Linked DNA regions of Homo sapiens: region 2 is linked to region 1. The links are contacts of gene promoters, found by promoter capture Hi-C in blood cells and fetal thymus (Javierre and others, 2016). All regions are on one chromosome and are shown on one strand. The core of a region is centred on a gene start or on the middle of the fragment in contact, and the rest is flanking DNA. Distances in the headings are between cores, read along the strand shown. Region 1 holds the start of MYCBP2-AS2 (MYCBP2 antisense RNA 2). Region 2 overlaps MYCBP2 (MYC binding protein 2).

Region 1 (4,447 bases), core at 1,179-3,678:
AGGCTGAGAAGAAGAAATTTCTCTCTAGGTAGCGAAACATTTAATGACAAAATTTCAATTACCTGCTTTATTCTGCACAAATCTTCTACTGCTTTGCCAGTTAAGAAGGTCATTGAGGTAACTTTATTCTGAAATAGACAATTCACAATAGTTAATATGCTATATTCCTGCTTCAGAACTTACAATGGTTTCTCATGACCTACTAATACCACATCAACTCTTCTGCCTGTCTCTTATGGTCCTTCCTGATTGACCCCACCCCATCCCTCCAACTAACCACGGTTCCTATAACTTTAGTCTCATTCTCACAAACTCCATCTTAAATTGCACATTTCAGCCTCTCTCCAGGTGCTCTCTCACAGCTTGACATTCCCTCTCCTTATTCAAAGTCTAAATATTCAGATTCCTTCCTCATGAAGCCTTTCAACAAATCTGCTTGTCACTTATGTCAGACTCTTGTTGCTATATTTTCATTACTTTTGGAAGTATAAAGAGGGAAGGTAACTGAACTAACAAATACTTATGAGTGTCACAATGTACCCAGACTTCCTTACAGATTTGAAGTAGGATATATGAGAGGAGGTTCTATCCCCCAAGATACTTGCCAAACTAGGGAAGGCAACATTAATACACAAAATAAATGTCAAACAGTACAAGTTCAATACATGTTCAAACTAGTGTCAAATATCTTAAGGCTGAATAAGTTTTACGCAAAGCACATCAAGAAATAGATTAACATTAATTCCTTGGAGAGCTGCATAATATGAGTGCTGTAGGCTGATACAACTCAAATCAACAAATGCTGTGTACAAGGCTCTGTGGTAGGCAGGTTGAGGAACATGGAGGTACATAACTCAAGGAAAACATACATACAGGTTGAGTATCCTTTATTAGAAATATTTGGGACTAGAAGTGTTTTGGATTAGGGATTTTTTAGGATTTTGAAATACTCTATTTGCATTATCCTTACTGGCTGGGCACCCCAAATCTGAATATCTAAAACCAGAAATGCTCCAATATGCATTTCCTTTAAGTGTCATATCTGTGTTCAAAAAGTTTCAGATTCTGTAGCATTTTGGATTTTCAGATTTGGAATGCTCAACCTATAACATAGAGGAAGCCTGTTAAAAGGAAAGTAGATGTCAGCTTACATGTTGGGAATTTTGAAAATGAATACTGTTATGATTATTTCCTCTTAGAAAAGACAGAAGTGTTAAATTGATTGCAATCATTGTTCTGAGGGAGAGTATGTCCTTGCTTAAAATGTACCATGAGCCAAAGATAGCTTTGCACTGAACAGTGAGTTCTAGCTACAAAAATGTTTTGCTTTGTTACACTTGACTTTCCAGTAAGATAAAGTAGTTACACCAGTGGAAATTCTTAGGTCTGAGGAGGAAATAGCTCATATTATATTAGCTAAGCCTCTTTTACTTACTCAATACCAGGGAGGAATAGAACCTGCACTGATGTACAGGAGTTGGAGGTTGCTCTGATTGCAGACTGGCCTGCATCCAGGTTATCTGAGACCCAATCCTACCACTGTGGCTCTTCCTGAGAAAGGAAATATGCAAATGGCACAGGAGAAGCCAGGCAATGGTTCAAGGAGAGCCATTAATACTGTATCTGCTAGCAAGCCACATCCATTCTGAGGAAAAAAATTCTAAATGAGGTAGAAGAAAGGCAGTCTGGCAGTTAGTGCTATTTCTTTCTTGGTTGTTAATACTCAAGCAAATAGGACTCTTTTTTCTTGTTTAGTGCCTTTTATAAAAGAATATTTAATTCAGTTGAAACACATGGATGAACTAGGCTGAAGAGAATATAAATTATGATTATTTGGGACAGTCTGAAACTTATTTTTTATTTCATGAGGACTGTGGCAAAGTAGACACTTGAAGATAGGCTGGGTGCAGTGGCTCATGTCTGTAATCCTAGCACTTTGGGAGGCTGAGGTGGGCAGATCACTTGAGGCCAGGGGTTTGAGACCGGCCTGGACAACATGGTGAAACCCTGTCTCTACTAAAAATACAAAAATTAGCCAAGCATGGTGGCGTGTGCTTGTAATCCCAGCTACTCAGGAGGTTGAAGCAGGAGAATCGTTTGAACCTGGAGGCGAAGGTTGCAGTGAGCCAAGATTGTGCCACTGCACTCCAGCCTGGGTGACAGAGGGAGACTCCATCTCAGAAAAAAAAAAAAAAGCTGATTACACTATAGGTCAAAGATTATTATTAAGTGCCACCAGAGTAATACAAAAAGAATCAGCAGAGGGAAAGAGTAATTTTTTAGAGGAGTTACTTAGAATTTCTCTGCTGAGTTTGAGAGACCCTGGAAGAATTGATCAGCAGAGTTTAAGGGGAGGACTTCCAGGTCACGGGAAAATCTTAACCAAGGGAATGGCAGCAGAAAATTGTAGAGCAGACTTTCATTTTGCTTAGCTGTAGCCATGGTATATTTGTAATCAGACCTCTTTTCAGAAATGGAATTCCACAGTGCTCCCAATCATATTAATTTGTTTTTAGACTTAAGATTTATTTGGGGATTATAGCAATGATGTTTGGTTGGTGAAATTCCAGGTGATAAAGCTTGTTGCTAAATTCAGAAATGAAAGTGCATGAATACTAAGATCTGAAAAGAGCTAAAGAGCCGTAAATCACGTTTGCTTTCTTACCCCAAGATCTCGGGAATTGTCCACGTGAACAGACACATAGCGGGCATTGATTCCTTTTACACAGTTGATGGTGATGTTCTTAGTTTTGTTTTTATCTTCATCTCCTGATTCCCAAAAGGTTTCTGTGGAGCCGTCTGTCAAACTGCCAATCATGGCAGGTCGGCTTGAAGTTTTTATGTCAACAATGCTGGTTAAGTCCTTTAAGCACATTACTATGCATAATTCCTATCAGAAACAAATATAAGTACTTATGATACTTAAAAGCAAATCTTTCGTGATGATAAAACAAACAGGTATAAGATAAAACATAATGGAAGACAGGATCAAATTGATTATGAATAACTTACAGTTTCTCCTTTGATGTATTATTAACTAACAGGACAACCAGGATAATAACTGAAATGACTGACCTGACTCATAGCTTCAAAGCCAGACTGTATACTGATGCTAAAACTCTCTTCACTATCGCCATCATCTGACTTTGACAAAATATTGTTAATGTGATGAAAGACGTTGCTCTGATGAAGGAACTGGTGATCAGATTGCTTGAATTTGAGACTCCAGCACCTAAAAAGGCGATATATAAGCAATATACGAAATAATTATTTTCCAGGAACATCTAAGGAACTCTTAGATGAGTACTCTGTAGCTAATATCTCAAGAAATTTTAATGTTCTAGTAACAGACATTTTAAAAATTCAGGGAAGAAAATCATTCCTATTGTTTTTGTTTTTGAGAAATAAAGGTAACTTCTTTGGAACAAGGTAAATTCTAAGGAAAGTTGACCCATTTTAAATATAAAAGAATTAGACAGATGAAGATCAAGGCTACAGAAGCAAAAAGGGTAATGAATCTATTGTGTAAACAAGTGGTACACCAACTGCAACAACCCCTCAAATTTATTACTCTTACAATGCCATACTAATTCATCAGGGTATAGTTTATCTTGTAGTTCAAAAATCTTGTGAGGAGGACAAAGAGAAATCTCTCTTCCACTGGTCTTATCATTAGTAACATGGGAAGCCCAAGCATTCCATCAATCTATTTCTTGTATACATTAATTAGGAGAATTTATTTATAAGTGTGAGTCCAGTATGTGAATCTAGTAACAAGGTTCACAGTGTAAAAGCAATGCTAAATTCTCAACACATTTCAAATTGAAATTGGAATCTGTTGAGCATCTGTGATGCTCCTTAAGGTGCTTTTAGGACTGGGTGCATACAACCAGGCTCTGTTTTCCCCAAGATTCTTTTCAAGTCAAAACTCTATTTTGGTTTTTGTTTTTGAGATTTCATTTTCCCTCTCTCTTTTTGGGACATTTAAGTGATTTGAGGTAGGAGACTGGGGAAAGTGAGGGAGATTGCTACAGTGATAATTTAGGGCACTAAGAATTACATTAGCCACATTTTACAGGAGGGCAAACAAATGTTAACTAAGAGGAAGGACCATTCTAAAAATTATGACTGTAAGGAGGGAGGCACCATCTATATAATGTAGGGATTCTATCTTACTATTTAAAGAGCTTTTTTTGGAGCATTTCATACTTTGAATATTCCATAAACTCTCTTGTCCAATGTACCTAGGATATGTGGATACCAAAATTACCTCAGGGCCATTTGCTGTAATGAACTGCCGCTGGGGAGAGACATCATAAGGTCTGAGATGGTCTGCAGCAAGCGGTGAAAGGTGTGTGGTAAAGGATGAGCAGCTTCCCCGGCAATCACTATGTCTGAGAGTGGATGTTCACATACTCTTGTATCTTTCTCCTAAGGCAGAAATTGA
Region 2 (4,447 bases), core at 674-3,173, 43 kb after region 1:
GTGGCTTACGCTTGTAATCCCAGCACTTTGGGAGGCCAAGGCAGGCGGATCACGAGGTCAGGAGATCGAGACCACGGTGAAACCCCTTCTGTACTAAAAATACAAAAAATTAGCCGGGCGTGGTGGCCGGCGCCTGTAGTCCCAGCTACTCAGAGAGGCTGAGGCAGGAGAATGGCATGAACCTGGGAGGCGGAGCTTGCAGTGAGCCGAGATCGCGCCACTGCACCCCAGCCTGGGTGACAGAGCGAGACTCCATCTCAAAAAAAAAAAAAAAAAAAAGTCAATAGTCCTTTAAACAGAACAGGGAACTACAGACAGGGTGTGGTAGAGTGTTTCCTTCCTACCTGTAAATTGCAATTCTGCTAAACCAGTGGTACTGTATAATCTATCCCTTTACCAGCATTTGTAGACTTGATTTAAAAAACCAATCTTAGCACTTCCCTTAGGCAATACTCTTCAGCATGCAATATTTCAGCAGTAGAATGTTTCTTCAGAAAAACACCCATGAACAGTAAACTGAACGGAAAAGATAGCACTGCTTCCTCTCTAGACTAAGAATGGTCTAGCACCCAGAGTGAAGTCTGTTTTTACCACAGCAGTAACTTTGCCTACTACAGATTTCAAAGACCAATAGAGAATTTTTACAAAGAGGAAAGCTTTTGTTTTACTCACATGACTTCATATAAATTACCATAGTGCCAAATCTTTGTACTTCCATATTAAATATTATCACCAATGAACAGACTATTTGGGCAGCACATCAACTAATCTTAGTGATTTAAAGGCACTAACTTCATATCATTTCTTTCCTTATCACTCCAGGTTTTATATTAAAATAGTAAGATTCACATGATCACCAAATATCCATATTTATGTCTGTATCTATACATCAAGAGTAAAAGATGATTAACTAATTACAGAGAAAAATTTAAACTTTTCTTAAATGATACTCTAATTTAAGAGGCATTTTATCTTGAAAGAAGCTTCTATCTTCTAAGTTTATAAGAATAAAATTTCCCAGGTTAAAACTTGATCCTTAGCATGGAAGGCATTTTGCATTTTAACAATAAGACCTAACTTACCATCCATTAGCTTTATCTGTTATTTGCTCATTTAGTCTTCATATCAAATTTATGTGGTTATGACCTATAAGGTCATTTTATAAATGGGAAAACTGAGGCACAGAGATATTAGGTTAACTTGGTCAAGGTCACATGAGTAAAAAGTTGCACAGCTGGGATCAGTACCCTGGCAGTCCTGCTTCAGAATCCACTCTTACATATTTTTTGTACTGCCAGTTAAAAAATTATTAAGGATTAAGCTAGAAAAGTCCTTTAGAAGTCACCTAAGCTGTTCTCATATTTAACTTATCTTAAATAAAGCTGATCTCCCCTTAGGTATTTTCATTTATATCTGAATATTCCTATATAAAGAAAAATGTTTAAAAATTTATGAATATGAAGTAAATATACAGCAATATATAATAAGCACATAGTAAGTGAAAAAGTCATTTAGTAAATGTCTGATTTACATCAAGCGGAACCCTTATCTTTTTCAAATGAACAGTTCTACTGTTTCAGGACATTATTTTATGACCATATCATCTTAGACTAAAAAAAGTCTATCTGGGAAAAACAAGGAGAGGAGGTAGGTTCTCAAGTTGTGCTCAATGTGTACAGCATGGTGTAATGAGTACAGCATTTAAAACACGAATGAAGATTCTGGCTGAAGTCTTACATCTGCTATGTCACCAGCTGTACAACCATAGACACGTTAGTTTAAATTCTAGAGCTTGAGTTTCCTACCTATAAATTTAAGATTATATCACCTACCTCAAAGGTGTGTTGTGGGGGGAAAAAGGGAGATATCTCCAAAGATACTCCATCATTATTGCAAATTTCAAACCTTTTCTGAATCCATATTTATGGCCAAATTGCCTCTTGGAATAATAAGTATTATAAATTTATTATCTTTTGAATAAAGATGCATGTTCTCTTATTTACCTAACTTCATCCTATAAATTTTGGGATTTGGCAGACAAGTCCATGTTTGCTTACATACTTATTTTGATGTGCTATTATTTTTATAATTCAAGTTGTATTACAAAACTTCATGAGCAACTAGTATGTGTCAAAACTGTTTCAGTACTAGGAATGGAAAGATAAAAACCATGTGCCTGTCCACAAGGGACTCATAACTGGGTATGAAGAAATAAACATGAACTTCACTATGACACTATTGTTCTAGTGGTGAGCACAATTCTTTAGGAACACAAGAAATTCTTTGCTCTGTTGTGATCAGTTAAAGCATCACACAAGTGATAATGTGGTCTCAACTTCGAAGAACAAATTTTTGCCACCAAGATATCAAAGAGAGGGGGACAAAAAGGAATATATTTTATTAAGTGATAGCCATGTTGAAAAAGGTAAAATAAAATTTAAAGTTGAAAATCTAACAACAGGAAACCCTAAAGACACTATGCATTTATTCAATGCTCTTTCCCTAAGACAAAATGCAATCAAATGAAGTTGCCTGGGAGAAGTACTGAGATTGGTAGTTGGAATACCGAAGTTTCATTTTATTATAGAAGGGATAGAACGTTCAGTCCTGGACTGGTACAGAAGAAAGAGGTATATAAATTTATATTAATGAAATTAAAAGCCTGTTTTATAAAGATGAGTCTATATGTTTCGAATTTTCTTTTAATTTTCTTCTTTAATGTGCATTAAGTACTCACGTATTTTACAAACCAATTTTAACAGTTGCAAGATTTTTTAACTTTTAGTTTTGCTTGTTAAAAAGCAAACACACAAAAAACTCTTTAAAACAAAAGCAATACAATAGGCATTAAACTTCTGTATTTGAAAGCTTAATTGGAATAAATCACAAATTTAAGCCAACTTGCCATCTTCATGTCGGAGGTACTGGTTTCCGCCTCTGTCTCTAGCTAAGGACCATGCCTCTCCTTCATCACTCTCACAGAACTCTACCATGCTGTTCTGATCCAGTTGCACCCATGTCCCTTCAGAATTGGTTACCTGGTACATAACAAAAAGCATGATTGATTGGCTTGATTCTTTCAGGGAACTCAGTCTGAAAACCAGTAAAAATCTTACGTGTCTGAATAGTGTAATCATTCCAATACATTTCTACTAAGAAATTAGTTTCTGAAATTAAGGCCACAGCCTGAGGTAAGACAGAAGTCAATAAAAAGTTCTGTAAAATACTGCTTATTTATGAATTTGGTTAAAATAATAACTTTCAAAGCACAAAGATAACACCTAAATAATTTTAAGAATTACCCAAGAACACATGGCTCATTTTCTTTTTTCTGCATCTAAAATGTCCTAACACAGCCGACTTGCTATTATTTAGGTTGAGAGTATCCATAGTGTAACTTGAAAATGACCCTTACTGAGAAATAGCATGACACACTACATCTTCAAGCTTATCAGCTGAGGCAAATGCCACAGTAGCCTAAAGAGTAATTTTATTTGCTCAGGACTTCAGTGAGACCTATGAATGGGAACAAAGAAATGAAACCTTTTGCATATGACCACATCTCCATACCGATCACATAGAATATTTTAAGTGATGATAATCCATGATGGTATAGTACATTTGTAATAATGAAAAAATATGTGCAAATACCAAACATTTATATATACAATACAAATCATTTGTTAATATATTGTTTACACAAGGATAATTATGCAAATCATTAGACAGAAGCACAGAAAAATTATGTATTTGCAATACAAGTAAAGATAAAATACATTAACATTGAAAAACCTGTGGTAGAAATGGCAACCTTTAGAAGAGATGCTTTGGTTGTATTACATTAAAAATGAGTATCTTAGAAGTCATGAAGCTACAAGAATCCATACCTCTCCCACTGCTTTGACTTTGTTTCCCAGAACTAACATTCCAATTGGGATACCTCTAAGGTTAGGGCAGCTTCTGATGTTGTGACCTGAAGGTCCCGTCTTCACTACCTTGTACATGCCTGGCCCTCCTCGCAAGAATGGCATATCTTGTTCTTGCATTGTTGCTTCCTGTGGGCAGCAGGAGTTTATGTCTTTGAAAAAGTCATCAGTATTAGTTTTAGATTCCTGAAAATTTGAATAGGAAAGAAAAATAAACAAAATACAATCTATTATCACTTTCAAAGCCTTCCTATTAATAGCTTTTATAGCAAGTCTACAGTACTGTCAATATAAAAAAAACACATAACTAAAGATAACTGAAGAATTAGTCATTAGCACTAATTAAAGAATCTCAGTTTTTCAACAATGCTATTTAAAATAAAGTTGAAGGCAAGAAAATATAGCAGGAAACCAGTCAACCTCTGGCTTCTGCCCACCATAATTTGAGAAATATAATCATCCTTGATTTTACTTTTATCTTTAATGCAATATTTAAAGTTGGAAAAATAAAAATACTATAC

The links. Contacts are between HindIII fragments. The CHiCAGO score rates a contact against its expected background, and 5 or more counts as called.
Region 2: a contact is called between a fragment that was not itself captured here and the fragment with the promoter of MYCBP2-AS2 in region 1, in 2 of 17 cell types (total B cells and naive B cells). The highest score is 5.2, in total B cells.

The regions. Positions count from the first base shown.
Region 1 is chr13:77,078,762-77,083,208 of GRCh38, forward strand. MYCBP2-AS2 (MYCBP2 antisense RNA 2) reads right to left here and starts at 2,429. Exons shown (of 2, transcript NR_170173.1): 1 at 2,153-2,429; 2 at 1,750-1,900. It overlaps MYCBP2 (MYC binding protein 2), which reads right to left. Exons shown (of 83, transcript NM_015057.5): 63 at 4,271-4,431; 64 at 3,076-3,232; 65 at 2,666-2,890; 66 at 63-128. MYCBP2-AS1 (MYCBP2 antisense RNA 1) reads left to right here. Exons shown (of 4, transcript NR_046716.1): 3 at 4,249-4,351. The HindIII fragment of the contact is 5,615 bases long and covers 1-2,577 here.
Region 2 is chr13:77,122,431-77,126,877 of GRCh38, forward strand. It overlaps MYCBP2 (MYC binding protein 2), which reads right to left. Exons shown (of 83, transcript NM_015057.5): 53 at 3,888-4,112; 54 at 2,906-3,038. Among named protein-coding and RNA genes, the nearest start is that of MYCBP2-AS2, 43 kb to the left of the region's middle. The HindIII fragment of the contact is 1,885 bases long and covers 982-2,866 here.